2 separate regions of the Homo sapiens genome follow, and region 1 is linked to region 2. The links are contacts of gene promoters, found by promoter capture Hi-C in blood cells and fetal thymus (Javierre and others, 2016). All regions are on one chromosome and are shown on one strand. The core of a region is centred on a gene start or on the middle of the fragment in contact, and the rest is flanking DNA. Distances in the headings are between cores, read along the strand shown.

The links. The method cuts DNA at HindIII sites, captures the fragments that hold promoters and counts their contacts. A CHiCAGO score of 5 or more calls a contact.
Region 1: a contact is called between a fragment that was not itself captured here and the fragment with the promoter of H3C12 in region 2, in 1 of 17 cell types (fetal thymus). The highest score is 7.4, in fetal thymus.

The regions. Positions count from the first base shown.
Region 1 is chr6:26,549,335-26,553,830 of GRCh38, reverse strand. It overlaps TRA-CGC1-1 (tRNA-Ala (anticodon CGC) 1-1), which reads right to left and starts at 328; the gene lies at 257-328. RefSeq lists a silencer at 323-372, a cis regulatory region at 1-645 and enhancers at 2,913-2,962, 2,947-3,481, 3,741-4,496. The HindIII fragment of the contact is 612 bases long and covers 1,285-1,896 here.
Region 2 is chr6:27,888,155-27,892,462 of GRCh38, reverse strand. It overlaps H3C12 (H3 clustered histone 12), which reads left to right and starts at 1,637. Exons shown (of 1, transcript NM_003535.3): 1 at 1,637-2,148. The coding sequence starts at 1,671. The coding sequence ends at 2,081. RefSeq lists enhancers at 1,665-1,884, 1,401-2,045, 2,105-2,404, 2,046-2,690, 2,691-3,335 and 2 more. The HindIII fragment of the contact is 2,915 bases long and covers 1-2,121 here.

The DNA of each region.
Region 1 (4,496 bases), core at 341-2,840, 1.3 Mb after region 2:
GCAACTTTCCAGGTTGCTCCTCTTCTGTCATCTCCCCATTGGGCATGTTTTTCTGTGTTCTCAATTCCATTTGTTTCACATAGATAGTTCAAAATACTTCAAAGCAATCTTGTTCCCCGTGCTCCATATACAATTCTACATACAGTGGCTAAAAGAAAGCCATAAAAAGTTAAAGAAGTGGAGGATACAAAACACAATTATTTCACATTTTGAAATATAGTTTCTAATAGTATTGGGCAGATAGGATAAAACAACTTGGAGATGCCGGGGATCGAACCCGGGACCTCATACATGCGAAGCATGCGCTCTACCACTGAGCTACATCCCCTACCCTAAGAAACCGTTCTTTGTAGCTCTCCCTAGTTGTTTGTGAAAGATTTCTGCTACCACCCCACCGCCCCGCCGTCTCCGTCCTCCCATATCTGTCCCCGTCCCCATCTCTGTCCCCAAAATTCTAAGATTTGCGGACTGCTGAAACTAAATTCTCTTTTATTTGTCGAACAAAATCCTGAAATGGTTAATGGGGCAGCATCCATCAGTTTTCAAAGTGTGGAAAACCTTCCAGCCATCAGACATGCTTGTCAAATACTTAACCTACTGACCCAGGGATAGAACTATTGACAACTACCTGGAAATCTGACAAGAAAAAGGAGAGTGAGGACGCTTCTTCACAAACTTCTTTAATTTATTTTTCCTTTTTTAAGGAAAACCAAGGCAGGTGAAACCAAGAACTGCTAAATCAGTTTTCTCTATCTTTCGTCTCACAACAGCTTCCCTAAGTCCGTCGCCGAAAAGGTGATTCAATTACTCCCCTTTATGTGCACCAGCGTCAGATCAGGTTACTTTTGAAAATGTTTTGTTTGGGCCCAAGTTTAGAGAGAGGATTTGAGATATTTATCTGGGAAGCCTAGGAACTGAAGGCGAGCATTCTGTTAGTCCTTGACTGGACTGGATTATATGAATACATATATATGCGTGTAGAAAGATAGGTAGATGGGTAGGTGGGTAGATAGATAGATAGATGATAGATAGATAGATAGATAGATAGATAGATAGATAGATAGAATTTTGGGGGGATGTTAGTATGGATTTGTAATATGGTTAGACCTCGGTCTTAAAACGGACCCTCGTTATGGCTGAGCTTCTGTGCTGTTATTAGCAAGAATTTCTAAATTACCAGGTCCTTATTAAAATCGCAGCTGAACCTTCTAAAATCACCTTCTAGGTCAGATACATAGATTAATAAACCAGGGTTGATGCAGTTTGGACATTTTGTATGAAGCTTGGTAGCTCAGTCAGTATGGCCATGGACTTTTAATCTGAGGAACCAGGTTTCAAGTCCCTGTTCAGGTGTCGCTGTATTTCTCCTTTTTTATTTCCATTTCTTCATTTTTAACCCAATACGTACAGTATTCTTTCCTTATCAGCAGGAGATATGTTCCAAGACACACAGTGAATGCCTGAAACCTCGGATAGTACCATAGTATACTATGTTTTTTCGATCTGATAACCAGGATGAATACTAAGTGACTAAGATGTGGGGAGCGCATACCGCGTGGATAGTCTGGACAAAGGGATGATCCTCGGGCGGGTGGGAGATTTCATGACGCTACTGAGAAAGGGGAGTTATTTGAAACTTATGAATTTTTTATTTCTGGAATTTTCATTTAATATTTTTGGACCACGGTTGAAGGGGGTAACTGAGACAGCGGAAGGGAAACTATGGACAAGGCGGGAGAGGTTACTGCAGTTAGAGAGAGGAAGGTTAAGGTCAAGTCACGGGCTGATATCCCCGAATAAATGAAGGACTCTTGAGCTGACCATAGGTCTCATAACCTAGGAGCTGTTTAGAAAATAGATGGGCCTTTTGGAAAGGGAGCCACAGCGCACAAAGCTTTTCATCTGCAATAGGAGTAAAAGTTGCAATAACAATGGCTACAAGTTGTTAAAGGTTAAACTCTTTCTTGAAAAGCAACAAAAATGCACAGGCTCCCTCTTTTCTCTATTAGCGTGCTCCTTTCTGATCCCCTGCTTTCCTGATCCATGGGGTTGCCCAGGTAAACAGACGTGGTTCTTCACCCAGAACTTGGGCCTAGTGGCAGTAGCTTTCATTTTTTTGGTGGTGACCTACAATTTAGTTTAGTTTACATCGTAATTCAGTCATACATATGTAACAGAAACAAAAGTTGCATGAACTATTCCTTACTCTTAACACACACACTGCATTCTGATTATTTCTGATTCTAGTCTATTCTAACTGAAATTTAACATATCTTTCACTTACTAATACAGGTAACAAACCACAATTGAAAGAGAAGTAACTACGACTCTGTCATCAAGAAAAATCACATATTTTTGGCCGGGGGTGGTGGCTCATGCCTGTAATTCCAGCACTTTGGGAGGCCGAGGCGGGCGGATCACCAGGTCAGGAGATCAAGACCATCCTGGCTAATACGGTGAAACCCCGTCTCTACTAAAAATACAAAAACAAAATTGGTGGCGGGCACCTGTAGTCCCAGCTACTCGGGAGGCTGAGGCAGGAGAATGGCGTGAACCCGGGAGGCGGAGCTTGCAGTGAGCAGAGACCACGCCACTGCACTCCAGCCTAGGCGACAGAGGGAGACTCTGTCTAAAAAAAAAGAAAAGAAAAATCACATATTTTTGTATCACAATACAGTTGTTACAAATACCCAAGACAACTGTTTGAAAATTACAGCAGTCATAAGACGGGTCTTGATGTTTAATATTTAATGCATTAATGAGAAGCACACATTACTCTATGAAATTATTTTAATCGTTTGAAAACTGTTTTGTAGTACAATTGGCTTTCTTTAAAATCCTGTGTATTTTTTAAAAGCTTTTAAAAATACAATTTTGAAAAGGGCTCCATGGGCTTCATGCTGGGGCCAGAGGGCTCCCTGGGAGCTAAAAGATGAAGAAGCCGCGGAAATTCGCCATCTGGGAGGAGACCACCGTCGGGTGCCCGCCATCCCCTTCCGCCGGAACTCCACTAAAGAGGACTAGGTGTTAGCGCTGGCGCGGGAGGCCGGAGCAAGGTCTTTAAAGGTCTAAGGTGAAATTCCGGGTGGGAGCTCAGTCAAGCCTCCCCTACCCAACTGGGAATCAGTGCGCCAACCGGAGCACGCCCCCCAGGCGACACCGAGAGGCGCGGAACTCCCAAGCCTAGAGGGCGTCGGAAGTGCATCCCAGAGCGGAGCAGCCAGAGGGGCGGGGCGTCGCGGCGCTGGGGCCGCGCCCTCGGGTATCCAGAGTACGGCTCTTCCAGGCCATGTTGATGACCCAGGGTGGAAGCCATTGGAGAGTTTTGAGAGAAGAAGGAGGTATTTTTTTTTTTTTTTTTTGAGACGGAGTTCTCACTCTATCTCCCAGGCTGGAGTGCAGTGGCACGATCACGGCTCACCGCAACCGAGGGAGGTACATTTTAGCGGGATTTCTGTGAGAGGCATTCGAACCAGAGCGACTCCATTTTGAGTGAGGGCTAGGAAAACGAGGCCGGGACTTTTGCTGGGCTGCATTCCCAGAAAGTCAGGCATTCCTAGCCTCTAGATGTTTATGGTTAAGGGAACAAATTAATAATGTTTACTAAACAGACCCAGACTTGGGAGTGTCTAGATGTCCCCATATCTGGAGAACAAAGGCATTCCAAATTTTGCTTTAAAGATAATAATATCGATTCTTACAAAATATAATAAGAAAATTAATCCTTTATCACAGACCCTTGTAGCAGAGCACATCTCCCCATACTTACAGGTATGTATCTAGGGTGGACACTTTCCTCCGCGTTTCAGGAACACCCTACTCTGTCTATGGAGTAGCTGTACTTTCACTACTTAACTTTCTTAATAAACCTGCTTTTACTTTGCACTGCGGACTCGCCCTGAATTCTTTCTTGCGGGAGAGCCAAGAACCCTCCCTTGGGGTCTGGATCGGGACCCTTTTTCTGTAACACAACAACTATTGAGAAAAGAAGGTAGTGGTGCAAGAACAGATACAGAAAAATAAGTTTCCCTCCCTCTTCTTTCCAACTCTTCCATGCTCAGTGCCTCAGATGTGAGGGTCAGAAATTTGGTTATTAAAAACTCTAGGCCGGGCGTGGTGGCTCACGCCTGTAATCCCAGCACTTTGGGAGGCCGAGGCGGGTGGATCACGAGGTCAGGAGTTCGAGACCAGCCTGGCAAAAATGGTGAAACCCTGTCTCGACTAAAACAAATACAAAAGATTAGCCAGACATGGTGGCAGGCGCCTGTAATTCCAGCCACTCGGCAGGGTGAGACAAGAGAATCACTTGAACCCGGGAGGCGGAGGTTGCAGTGAGCTGAGATCGCGCTAATGCACTCCAGCCTGGGCGACAAGAGTGAAACTCCGTCTCAAAAAAACAAACAAGCAAACAAAAAAACCTCTAGATCACCCAGGCTGATATATGTCTAAATTTATGTTTGTCTAAATGTAAAGTTAAATGAGAACAATACTACTCA
Region 2 (4,308 bases), core at 388-2,887:
TCCTTAGCATTTTGGGAAACTGAGGCAGGTGGGTGGGGAGGGGAGAAATCTCTAGGGACCTGGAGTTCGAGACCACCCTGATAACGAGACCCCTGCCTCTTAAAAAAAAAATGACTGGGCGCGGTGGCTCACGCCTGTAATCCCAGCACTTTGGGAGGCCGAGGAGGGTGTATCACAAGGTCAAGAGATCGAGACCACCCAGGCAAACATGGTGAAACCCTGTCCCTACTAAAAACACAAAAATTAGCCGGGCGTGGTGGCGAGCGCTACTAAGGAGACAGGCAGGAGAATCGCTTGAACCCAGGAGGCAGAGGTTGCAGTGAGCCGAGATCACGCCACTGCACTCCAGCCTGGGCGACAGAGCGAGACTCCATCTAAAAAAAAGAAAGAAAAAAAATACCAGGCGCGAGGCCCTCGCCTGTATTTGGCGGACTGACAGCAGAAGGAACACTTGAGTCCCAGGAATTTGAGATTTCAGTGAGCCATGACCTCGCCACTGCACTCCAGCCTGGGTGACAAAGCGAGACCCCGTCTCAAAAAAAGAAAAACAAAACCCAAACAAAAGTATTTCTGGTGATCATTTGCTCCTGTGAATATAATAAATGTTAAACTAACCTTTTTGTTGTCTTTATGGGTCTTTATCAATACCAGAACCTGGTAGTTCTTTGATCAACTAAAATCTCCATCCTAATAAAATGCTGTTGTCAGAACTACCCAGATTCACTGGCAAAAATCTAATCACTGACCCAAACCTGTAATTCCGCGCATGCTAATGAAATTAAGCAATAATTTACATAATTAATCCAATCAGCCATTGGATTGCATTAAACTCAGTTAATGAAGAGGTCAGATACCATTTATTGGTATCATTTAGTCAAGCACCTATCAAACTCCTTCCCCACACCACACTGGACAAAACTAAAGTTTTGGTGTTTTAGAGAATGTGCCAGCCTAAGTTTAAATTGTTTTTGTTCTGGGTCTTGGTACAGTCATTAAAAGATTTAATTAAGCAGTTACAAAACGGAACTACTTTTTGGAAATACTAGCAAATACGTTGTTCTACTGTATGTATTTTTACACGATCCGAAATAGGAAAAATGACCCATTGGAAATGAGTTTAAGACTACGACTGACCTACACAAATTCTAGGTCAGATTATCTTTTCATTGGGGGAATCTTAACATGATTGGTTGAAAACAATAAATAAAAGTGGCGCGGAGGACGAGCGCAGTGGCTCACGCCTGTAATCTAAGCACTTTGGAAGTCCGAGGCAGGCGGATAACTTGAGATCAGGAGTTTGAGACCAGCCTGGCCAACATGGTGAAACCCCTTCTCTGCTAAAAAAAAATTAGCCGGGCGTCGTGGCAAGTGCCTGTAGTCCCAGCTACTCCGGAGGCTGAGGCAGAATCGCTTGAACCCGGGAGGCGGAGGTTGCAGTGAGCTGAGATCGCGCCACCACACTCCAGCCTAGGCGACAGAATTAGAAGCCGTCAGGTAAAAAAAAAAAAAAAAAAAAAAAAGTGGCAGGAACCAAATGAAGATAGTATTAACAACCAACCAGGTTTTTCCTACAACAGTTCTGACCAATCAGGATCAGATCATCGTTATAAATTCTGGTAGAAGCCACTGCTCATTCAGCTGCTTGCTTTCAGAGCATAGCTTTCTCAACTATGGCCCGGACGAAGCAGACAGCTCGCAAGTCTACCGGCGGCAAGGCACCGCGGAAGCAGCTGGCCACCAAGGCAGCGCGCAAAAGCGCTCCAGCGACTGGCGGTGTGAAGAAGCCCCACCGCTACAGGCCAGGCACCGTGGCCTTGCGTGAGATCCGCCGTTATCAGAAGTCGACTGAGCTGCTCATCCGCAAACTGCCATTTCAGCGCCTGGTGCGAGAAATCGCGCAGGATTTCAAAACCGACCTTCGTTTCCAGAGCTCGGCGGTGATGGCGCTGCAAGAGGCGTGCGAGGCCTATCTGGTGGGTCTCTTTGAAGACACCAACCTCTGTGCTATTCACGCCAAGCGTGTCACTATTATGCCTAAGGACATCCAGCTTGCGCGTCGTATCCGTGGCGAGCGAGCATAATCCCCTGCTCTATCTTGGGTTTCTTAATTGCTTCCAAGCTTCCAAAGGCTCTTTTCAGAGCCACTTACATTCTCACTGAGGATAGCTGTCACACCATTGGTCGACTGTCTTAAATCAACTTTAAAGCAGGGATAAACTGGCGGAAAGTCGTCAAGGGTTGTTCATTCTGATTCCTTGCAGTGTCCTTTGTCTTCTAAGACGGTCCTTTTCACTTGTCCTCTGTGACCCATCTCACAAGGGTCTCACTTTCTCCGAGGAAAGTCAGCAAATCTATATCCAAGGTCAATCCGCTTCAAGGGGAAAGCCAAAGTCCTTCCTGCACATGCTGTCCTTTGGGGATAGCATCTCCAGAACCCCATAACTAACAATTAGATTACAGGTTAAATGAGATGCCATTTTTAACTGAAACGGGCACTGCCCTTGGGTCCCCTGGAAGCTTGCTGAAAATCACGGACATGAGGCCGGTTGATTTAGCACATAGACACGGGAGACTTCAAAATGAGGACCCACCCACCAATGAGATACAGAAGTTTATATATCACCTTGAGATTATAGAAAGAGTGCAAGCTTGGAACCTGGGAAAACAGATTATAGGAGGGAGAAAGGAAGAGACTTGGCTAGCAAGGGGGGCGGGTCTTGTTATGTAGATGAAAACACATAGCTAGTAGTCCTCAGAAAAAATAGATGGTAAATGTCTCTTGTCAGGGTGGGCGTGGTGGCTCATGCCCTCCACTTTGGGAGGCAGTGGAAGGAGGATTCCCTGAGCCCAGGAGTTTGAGATCAGCCTGGGTAACAGCAAAATCCTGTCTCTACGAAAAACAAATAAAAAGAAAGGTGGGTGTTGCAGCGCACAACTGTAGTTCTAGCTGCTCAGAAGGCTGAGGCAGGAAGATTGCCTGAGCCCACGAGTTCAAGGATGCAGTGAACTATGATTGCACAATTGCACTCCAGCCTGGGTGACAGAGCAAGACAGTCTCTTAAAAAATAAAAATAAAAAAGGATCAGACTCTCAGTTAATCTCTCCTAGATCCAGGAAAGGACTAGAAAGGGAAAGCCTGGCAACAAATGGAAATTTCCCCCACAAAAGACTGATTTGCAGGGCCTCATCGGTCTCCGGGCCCTGAGGCAGCCATTTCAAAATAGGGCAAAGAAATATCTTTTGGGGTAAAATATTTTTATTTCCTTCACTTTACTTTCCTCAAGAGACTGCTTTAAAGGTTAAATGCAGTAATATATTCTAGGGCCTTGGACAGTGCCCCAGAAAACACATTAGGTACACAAAAAATATTTATTGAACCTGATTTTATCTCTGAATCTTAGTTTGGAGTGGCTCTTGTGGGAGACTAAAATATGCCACCCCGAAGTATACTTTGTCATATTTCAAGATGGCTATTCAGAGAAACTGCAGAAATAGGAATAGCTCTGAAAAGCTCTTTTTTGTAAAAGAATTGTATACCTATCAAGGAAATCTACATTAGTAAACAGTGGATGCAAGTACTGGCTTTCTCTGAGGCTCCCTTTCCTGCCTAAAGAGGAATCTAAGACTGACTCAAAGGAGAGAAAACTACTTTGTCACAGGCTGTCAGCTATTCTGCGATTACCTGAGAGACTTTATCTACATAACAAGAAAACCTTTGCCTTTCCTCCCCTGGTGCCTTTGCCCTTCCTCCTTCACCCTCCTACAACATGTGTCACCACCTCCTCCAAACCCCCAGAAGTCTCAAGACCTTTTTTCTTTCTGTAGTCTCAGAATGGCATAAAAACGTCAATTATTTGGCCCTTCTGAGAGAGAAATAATATAGGGTGGTCACAAGAGAATAGAAGATTCCATGCAGTAGTTTCACATGACTAGCAAAAAGGAAACTGTTGAAATAGCTGCACAAACTAGGAGCCAAAGAGACCCTGAAAACCGAAATGTTTGCCAAGCTGGCTAAGTCCTACTTGACCCAACATGGCACTGGATTTGACCTAGCTTTCACCTGGGACCTTATTATACACTTATTAACATACAAATCAGACATCCACCAACACCATGACAGTTCCGAGAACACCCATATTTCATGGAAAAATGGATGGCACCACAGTTCTGAGAAATTGTCACCCTTTTCCAGAAATCTTCATGGATATTCCACCCCTTGGTTAAGGAAACCCATAAAGTTAGAAGCCCCAATCACTCCTGGGCAAGACTGACTCTCTTGAGTAAGCCTGCACTTCCCTTCCTTGAGCA